2 separate regions of the Homo sapiens genome follow, and region 1 is linked to region 2. The links are contacts of gene promoters, found by promoter capture Hi-C in human tissues and cell types (Jung and others, 2019). All regions are on one chromosome and are shown on one strand. The core of a region is centred on a gene start or on the middle of the fragment in contact, and the rest is flanking DNA. Distances in the headings are between cores, read along the strand shown. Region 1 overlaps KCNJ12 (potassium inwardly rectifying channel subfamily J member 12). Region 2 holds the start of KCNJ12 (potassium inwardly rectifying channel subfamily J member 12).

Evidence for each region. Contacts are between HindIII fragments. The study calls those that stand out against the background at their distance.
Region 1: a fragment that was not itself captured here is called in contact with the fragment with the promoter of KCNJ12 in region 2 in 1 of the 25 tissues and cell types used here (pancreas).

What each region holds. Positions count from the first base shown.
Region 1 is chr17:21,410,361-21,414,306 of GRCh38, forward strand. The region is part of intron 2 of KCNJ12 (potassium inwardly rectifying channel subfamily J member 12); the gene reads left to right. Among named protein-coding and RNA genes, the nearest start is that of KCNJ12, 36 kb to the left of the region's middle. RefSeq lists enhancers at 1-385, 386-1,345. The HindIII fragment of the contact is 3,641 bases long and covers 62-3,702 here.
Region 2 is chr17:21,373,999-21,378,200 of GRCh38, forward strand. It overlaps KCNJ12 (potassium inwardly rectifying channel subfamily J member 12), which reads left to right and starts at 2,359. Exons shown (of 3, transcript NM_021012.5): 1 at 2,359-2,915. RefSeq lists an enhancer at 1-82. The HindIII fragment of the contact is 9,762 bases long and covers 1-4,202 here.

The sequences.
Region 1 (3,946 bases), core at 632-3,131, 36 kb after region 2:
GTGCCTGGATTAGGAAAGATTCTGAGCTGCTCTGGATGCAGTGGATGAAGCTCTGTGGCTGAGGAATGGTGCTTGCCTGGGCGAGGCTGGAGCAGGCACCTTGGGCGGGGAGGCGTGCGCCAGCCTTCCCTGCATTGAGTGATCTCTGAGGGGTCTTCCAACGGTGAGGCTTGATCATGAGGTAGAGTGCCCCATCTCCGAATGAGGGTGAGTGGCCGTGGGTTGGAGTGCTGGTGAGGGCCCTTGAACCTGTGCTTTTGAGTGCCGATTTGCAGCAGTCTACATCTCATCACCACCTGGGACTGCAGGGGCTTGGGACCAAAAGGATTGCAGTGCCACGCACACAGTCAGGCCTCAGGTCTTGGTGTTGTGGGGCACTGGTTTCACCCCTACAGCCCAGCCTGGAAGCTTCACTCCTGAAAGGCTGTGTAACCATCACAGTGACTCAATCTTCCTAGGCTTCCGTCTGCTCATCTGGAAAATGGGGATAATAATCACAGTGTGATGGAAGGGATTAAATGAATCAGTTTATTAAAGCTCTTAGAAGAGCACGTGGCAGGTAGTAAGCACTTGATAGATACTGAGTGCTGTGTTCGTGCCTCGTGAGGCGCCCCAGCTAGCTGAACAGTCTCTGCATGGGGGATGGGGGCTGTTGGCGCCTCCCCCTCCGAGTCCCTATGTCTTACCCTGGGTGATGCAGGCGCCTGCACTCTCCCTTCCGGTCAGTGCTTTCTTGGTGTCTGGGAATGTGGGTCCAGGCCTTGCCCTGAGCTCCTCCCGGATGTCACCGAAACCTGAGAAGCCCAGGGCCTCAGGGCAGTGGGCATGGGGCATCCAGTTCCATCCGGAAGCACCTCCCGGTGACTCCTGGACCCCACCCTTAGGTCACGTGGCAGCTGCCGTCTGGCATCCTCTCTAAAAGCTCCCAGCCCAGGTCCTGGTCTGTTCTTCAAGTGGACTGGTCGCTGGGAGGCTGCGTCTGTAGGCACTGTGGCCAGCAGGAAAGCAGGGATCTCCGGGGGTCTGCCGGGCCCGTGCTCTCTCCCCACTGCCTGCTCTCTCCCTCCTGGGTTTGCTTCACTGCCCCTTGGTGTTGAAACCGCCTTGTCTAGCTCAGGTAGTGTACCCCAGCGCCCCTCTCCCATTCCCCTCCCGGCGACCCTGGGACCCTGGCAGGCCAACCTGGGTGTCTGCGGAAAACGGTCCTACCTTTAGTAGTGAGCACCTTGTCTTGGCCCTTGAATTGCTTTGTGACCTGGGACAAGTCTCTTTTTCTTTTTGGACTTGGTTCTCCCATCTGTGAAATGGGGAGCCAGCCTTCTTGCTTGCTAAGGCCTCTTCCAGCAAAACAGTTTCTCTGATTTCATGTCTTGTCTGATTTCACTGTATGCACCCCATTGAGCAAGAGCCAAAAAGGCCTGTGTGTCCCTGGTGGAGGATATTGTCCTATATTTCTTATATTGCGACCTTGAAGGCCGCATGGTTGTGTAACATCTTGCCACACCTGTGTTTACGCAGGAGTGTTCTTGAGACATTGTCTAGCTTGTGGTGCTAGGGTTTCTATGCCAGGGTCCCCTTCTGGGTCTGTCTTTGTGGTGCTGTATTCACCAAGTGCCCAGTGAGGGGGCTCCCAGCACCCCTGGGGAGGGTTTCTCTCTCTCTCTCTCTCACACACACACACACGCACACACGGCAGAGCAGGGCTGTGTGAGGCTGAGGACTGACATTCTGGGCTCCAACTCTCTCTTCTGCTCAGTTTCCAGGGGTCCTGGGACAGGTGTCTTTGTCAGTTTTTGGCTCTGAGAAATGAGGGAGTGGGGCATGAACTTGACCTTGTTGATGCTCTCTGTGTGGTAAAACCACGCAGAGAGGAACGTCGACAGAAGTGGGGGTTTCCAAGCCTGTATGACACCATCTGGGCAGGTCTGCGGTGCCCAGCCCTGGCAGAGATGCCAGGAGCTGTGGCAGCACCCTCACCAGTCTGGTAGTTGGCCAGTTTCGAGGCCGCCAGCTGCTGGGAGCACATGCAGACCGGGCTCTCTGGCCTTTAATTCTTGTGATTCTGTTCCTTGCAGGCTTTGAGCTGCTCGGAGCAGGGGCTGGAGCAGCCATGACCCGCTGGAAGTCCCTCAAGGCCCCTGGGCCACACAAATCCAGCCCCTGTCAGCTGGTGGCCTCACGCCGGCGTCTGAGTGCCCCGGCCCTGGCTGCCTCTTTCTGGAGGGTCCAGGAATCTGGGGCTGAGCCCCCTTCCCAGCACAGCCTCAGGGGTCCCCCCTGCTGCCGGCTCCCTACTTCCAGGCCCAGGCAGAAGCAGTGTCCACCATTCCGGCCCTGCGTCCCAGCTCCTCAGCGTCATGGTGAGGTGGTCAGCCACAGCGGTGTTGGGGGAGGACGGCAGAGTAAGGAAAGGCATCCCTGCAGAGCTTGGGGGCCCATGGTGGGGGACGGCGCTAGAGGTGGTTTAAAACTCAACTCTCCTGCTTAATGGCTGTGTGGCCTGGGGGAAGTCACTTAACTTCTCTGAACCTGGATGGTGGCTGCACCCCCGGGTTGTTGAGAGGACGATCTGAGGGCAGCTGTTGATGGATCTGTCCCCCAAGGCGCCCAGGACCCCGCCTGCTCTCCCTGTGTCTCTCTCAGGCGGCAGTTGCTGTGTGCTGCTCGGACCAGCGGGCTCGGGGCTAAGCAACCAGGCAGCCCCTGGGAGTGTTCCACAGCCTGGCCGGGCAGGCGGCTCCACCATCACCTGTTGCTCAGGTGTTTGGAGCAGAGCTCAGAGGCCGCACCCGCTCCGAGGCCCAGACTAGTGTGGACGTGGCCAGAAGCTGGGTCACACAGACCGGGGCTGAGTCCTGGCATTGCTGCCTCCTGCCTATGGGACTGGGACAAGTCCATTCTGGCTTCTGGGCCTCCAGGTCCTTGTTTGTAAAGCAGGGTGGCCCACCCCTCCCTGGAGGGCTTGAGAGGCCTGCAGAAGGCTGTGTGCAGCGCCTGGTTCACAGTGGTGCCATCCCCCCAGGATGTTCTCTTGGGGCCTCAGTGTCTTCGTAACTGAGTAATGTGGCTGCAGGTGTGCTAAGGGAGAAGGCTTTGTCTAGCTCTGAGGTTATGGTGTGACTGGACTGGGACTGGGGGTGCTGGGTCCCTGTGGGCGGGGAGGGGTGGGCCTGTCCAGCTCCTCCGTCGGGGCTAATGCTGGAAGGCCCAGGTCTCCCTGCTTCCAGCCTAGCCCAGCCAAGGCAGGCTGCCATCCAGATGTGGCTGTGGGCCAGGCGGTGCCATAGCCCCTAGCTTGCAGATGCCCTAGCCTGTCACTGACAGGCCAGTGTGGGGCCTTTAGTGGGGGCAGCACAGCCTGTGTGTCCCGGGGGTGGGCACGTCAGTGGCTGAGAGCAGGCTTTGTTCTGGCTGGCATGGATGCCCTGCTGCGGGGCCTGTCCTGGGGTGCCTGAATGTGCAGTAGGCTGGCCTGGAGCCAGGTGCTGCCTGCAGTGAGCTGAGGGTGGTGCTGGGAACAGGTGACACCCCTGAGCACTGCCCAGGTGCTAGGGTAGCAGCCTTGCAATCTTCCTTAGAGATGCGGGAAGCAGGGGCTGGGGAGGGCCCTCGGCTGAGGTCAGCCAGGGAGCAGCCCATGTCTGGGTGCCAGATCTTACCCTCTTTGGCACTGCTGGTGACCAAGAAGCTGCAAGCATGGCATGTGGGTGGACACTGTAGAGTGGGGCATGTGGGTGTCAGGAGGGTGGTGGGACCCAGCTTGGGGTGTTCAAAGTGGGTGGCGACAGGGGTGGCAGGCCGCATTCTAGGCCCTGGGAAGGACAACAAGAAGCAAAAGAGAAAACGTCTCACGCCTGTAATCCCAGCACTTCAGGAGGCCGAGGCAGGTGGATCACCTGAGGTCAAGAGTTTGAGACCAGCCTGGCCAACATGGTGAAACCCCGTC
Region 2 (4,202 bases), core at 1,109-3,608:
AGATCTGCCCACATCCCTGCCTCTTTGTGTCCCAGCCCCTCCTGGAGGGAGGCTGGTGCCCAGTGGCGTGGCAGAGGGGATTTGCTTTGAGGGGCCCTTAATGGCTGCTCATGGGTTGCAATTACAATTAAGAATTGAACTCTGACCCTGCACGTGGGTTGGGAGGGTGGGACGTGGAGCCCAAGGGAGTGGCCCAGGGAGTCAGGCTTGCGTCTCTGCTGGGTGACCTTGGGCAAGACGCTTGCCCTCTTTGTGAAATGGGTCTGATAATGGCTCTGGGAGTGGGGATAGGGAGGGGCGGAGACCTGGCCTGACTCACAGTAGTCATCTTGGGTGTCGAGCCCCTGGGCAGGGGCCCTGTGTGTGTGTGTGTGGGAAGGGGGGGGTGGTGTTCCAGGCGTGAGGATGCCCTGGGCACAGCCACTTGTCCCAGGAGCTGTCAGAATCTTAGACCCAGAGGAGCCCTGAGGTGTTCCCGTCCATTCCCTTGCCCCTTTCTAGGCCACCAGAGTAAGGCCTCGAGGGAGGGATGTCTCAGGCCCCATTCCTCTTGGGACAGCTGAGTGGTCTCTGAGGGTGGGAGCTGGTTTGAGGCTTCTTCCGCAGCTGGCTTGGGCTTCCCCATCTGGGAAATGGAGCAGGGGCAGGTGGGGAGCTGAGTCATTTCCCTCCTTGGTCACTCGGAGGGAGAAGAAGGAAGTTTCCTGAGAGCTTTTGGTCCCCTGGGAGGCTGTTTCTCCCAGGAGGAGGAGGAAACCAGGACACAGTGTGCCAGGCAGGGCAGGGTGGGGGCTGCAGACTTCTGCGATGCCCCTTCTTTCTCCACTGCAGCCCTAAGTTGAGGACACACCTGATTCTGCGTACTGGCTCCACCATCTGGTAGTTCTGTAATTAAGCAAGTGACCACCCCTCTGTGCCTCAGTTCCTTCATCTGTAAAATGGAGCCAATGAGCTTATCCACCACAGATGGCCGCAGTGGTAATGAAATAATTCTAGCTGGGTCCATAGCACAGAGCTCAGAACATATTGAGTGCTCCGCCTGGCTGTTTTACCAGCCAAGTCAAGTGCTAAGCACTTTAGGTAGACTCATCTCATTTAATCCTTGCTACAGCCCCATGAGTGTAGTGATTTCTACTGACAACAGGGAAACAGAGGCACTGAGTGGTGAAGTGACCTGTCCCACAGCTAGTCAGTTGAGGTGGGATTCAAACCCAGGGCAGACTGATGTCGGTGAGTGCTGGGCTGGATTTCACCCACCAGCTGCCTGGGGCCAGGATCCTAGGGCTGGTGGGGCCTGCAGATCACTCTGCTCTGAGCCGCCAGCAATCTGGGTGCGGGCCAGAGAGCCGTCCTCCTCGGTTAGAATCCTGCAGCCAGTCTCCCTGCTGTGCAGACACATAATTATATTTCACATTAAAGGGGAAGCTGGAGGCCAAGGGGGCCAAGGAGCCCTTTGAGGCTCATGCTCTGGGCACAGACTGGCCTCCTCGGCCCAATTCTGAGGCCCTAGGGCCGAGCTGGGGGTCAGACTGGTGACAAAATGGAGTTCCCCTGGGTCAGTGTCCAGGCGAGCAGGTCTGTCTGCCAGGATGAAAGACTTGGCCCCTGCGGGAGGCTCAGAGATATGAGGCCCAGACAATAGGCCTCAGAAAGCTGGGAGGGCAGGGCATTTGGGGACAGGTTGGGAAGAAAGCCTGAGCCTCCAGAGACAGGGGCTCGAAAGAGAAGGGGGTCACATGGGGATCCGGTCGGCAGAGAGAGGTCCAGGGAGGAGCACAGAGAAGGCAGGAGATGGGAGAAGCCAAGCAGCTCAAGATGGAGAGGAGAAAAATGCTATTAGGGTGGGATGGTGTGTGTAGAGGGTGCGTGCCTGGTGTGCAGGGGAAAAGGGCTCTGTGGGAATGCACAAGCTTAGACCTGTGTGTGCGTATGCACACGTGCAGATGCCATCCTGCATGTGCACATATGAGCGAGTGTGCACATGTGCCCCTGCGAACATCATGCATGTGGGGGCATGTATCCTGCATGTTTATGCCTGTGTGTGTGCTCGCCATGCACCTGTGCGTGCGCGCGTGTCCCCGGCGGACGTGCCTGCATGTGTGTGTATGTGTGTGTGCGCGCATGTCCCCGGGAAGTCGTGCCTGTGTGTGTGTGTGTGTGTGTGTGTGTGTGTGTGTATATATATATGTGTGTGTGCGCGCGCGCGTCCCAGTGCGCAAGTGGCTGGCGGTGTGTGTGTAGGGGGCGGCCCGGGACTAGGAGGGGCTCGGGGCCAGGCCGGAGCCGTGGTAGGCTGGTGCAGCGGCTGCGCGGCGCGGCGCGGCGCGGGGCGGGCGTGCTCTCCGCGGAGAGTTAGAGGAGTTGCCGAGCTGAGCTCCGGTGGAGCGAGGCGCGGAGCTGGGTGCGCGCCGAGCCTCTGCCTCCCGCCGCCTCCTCGCCCTCCATTCCTCGCTCCCCGTCTTCTCCCGGCCACACCGCCACTGCTGCCGCCTCCCTGGGAACAGTAGCCGGGGGAGGGGGACTGGCGCGGTCAGAGCCTGCGAGGAGGTGCGGGGCGCCGGGGCGTAGGGGAGCGCGCCGGGCCCTGCCCGAGATCAGATAACAGCCGGCGGGGGAGGGGGTGGGCCGGCCGTGCTCACAGCCGGACCGAGGGACCGACGCCAGCCGCCCCGGCCCAAGCGAGCGCCCAGCGGCCGGGGGCGCCGTCCAGGCGCGCGCCCCCGACCCGTGGCTGGACCAGGGCGATCCGCTTTGCAGAGAAGACGCGCCCCTCGGCATGGAGCGCCCCCGGGAGCTGCCCTGAGGCGGTGGCGGCAGCGGCGGCGATGCAGCCAGCGCGGCAGCTGCCGGGGCCAGGAACGGCCGCCCGGAGCTTGGAGGACGCCGAGCGCGCCGCGCCCGGGCCACTGACCGAGGTAAGTGCGCGGCCGCGGGCGCATGGTCCCTCCCGGGCCCGGCCCCAGTTCCCCGCAGGCCGCGCCTCGCCACTAGCCCGGCCCGGAGCTAGCACGAGGTTGTGCAGCAACAGGGAAGGTGGAGCGGGAGGGTGTTTTCTTCCTCTCGTTTTATTTTTTTCCCTCCCTTGGTGAGACATCGGAGGAAATGCTGACTGCGAGCTTTTCTTTTCCTGCCATGTCTCCGGCTACCACCACAAGGAACTTTGCTCCTGGCTAACCTTCGTCCTGGGGGGCGCTCCGGGAAACTTTGAGGAGCCCTCGGCCCCCCTCTGACTGGTTTGCACTAGGGGGCTCGGGAGGGAGCGTGCGGAAGCACTCTGGCGCGCGGCACGGGTCCTACGCGTGACCTTCCCGGAGACCCCGCGATCGAGGTGGGGTTCGGAGGTGGGCGCCCGGGCTATATGAGCCGCCCCGAGAATGCCTCCCGTCAGAGACCTGCGGGTTCTTGGAGTCGTGTCTCTTTCTCACCTCCCGTGCTGTAATGGAGTAAAAATATTCTGGAAATGATTCCATGCCAGCAAGTCAGCCAAGTCCAGAGGCTCCCTTTTGCTTTTAGAAGTCGGCCTTGATCTCCGAGGGGATGGCCGCTGGCTGAGAAGCTCCCAGGGTTTCAGGGCCAGGGTCCACCCTGCGCGCGCACGGCCTCTCCGGGTGCCCTGGGGGAGCGGGGCGGGAATCAGGGGCTCATGGGCAGAGACAGCTGGGGTGGGGCGCTCCTTGGGGGGTTCAGATGGGAGTTGAGGCCCAAGCGAGTGTCTGTGCCTCGGTTTTGATCCAGCGTGCCCATGTCATGTGAATATTTTAAAACCTGTGATCAGAATGGGGGTCAAAGTGTTTCTTTGGGGACGGTCTTGTTCTGGGAGGTTTTCCTGCCTCCTCACAGCCTGGACTCGCCCGCACCTGGGACCTCCCCCTCCCCATTTCCCAGGGGGCGTTCCCATCTTAGAGTACCGCGCTGCCTGTGGCCATTTCTAGTTTCTTTTTTGCTCCCCTATACCCAGGTTCGAGCCCTGCAATAAAGCGCTGGGGACCTCCTGGCTCCCACATCTGCGCCCCAAACCCAGGTTCACAGGCTCCGTCTCCGAGAGCGCCGAGGCGCCCACACGCCACTGAAATCGGCAGCCGCCTTTGGAAGGTGCGAACCCGGAAGGCGTTAGCCTTGGGCCTAGCCTTCGCCCCCTCTGAGATGCCAAAGGAGAGCCGGTCCCTGGCCGCGCGGCTGGACCCCAGCCTCCCTCGCGCTGC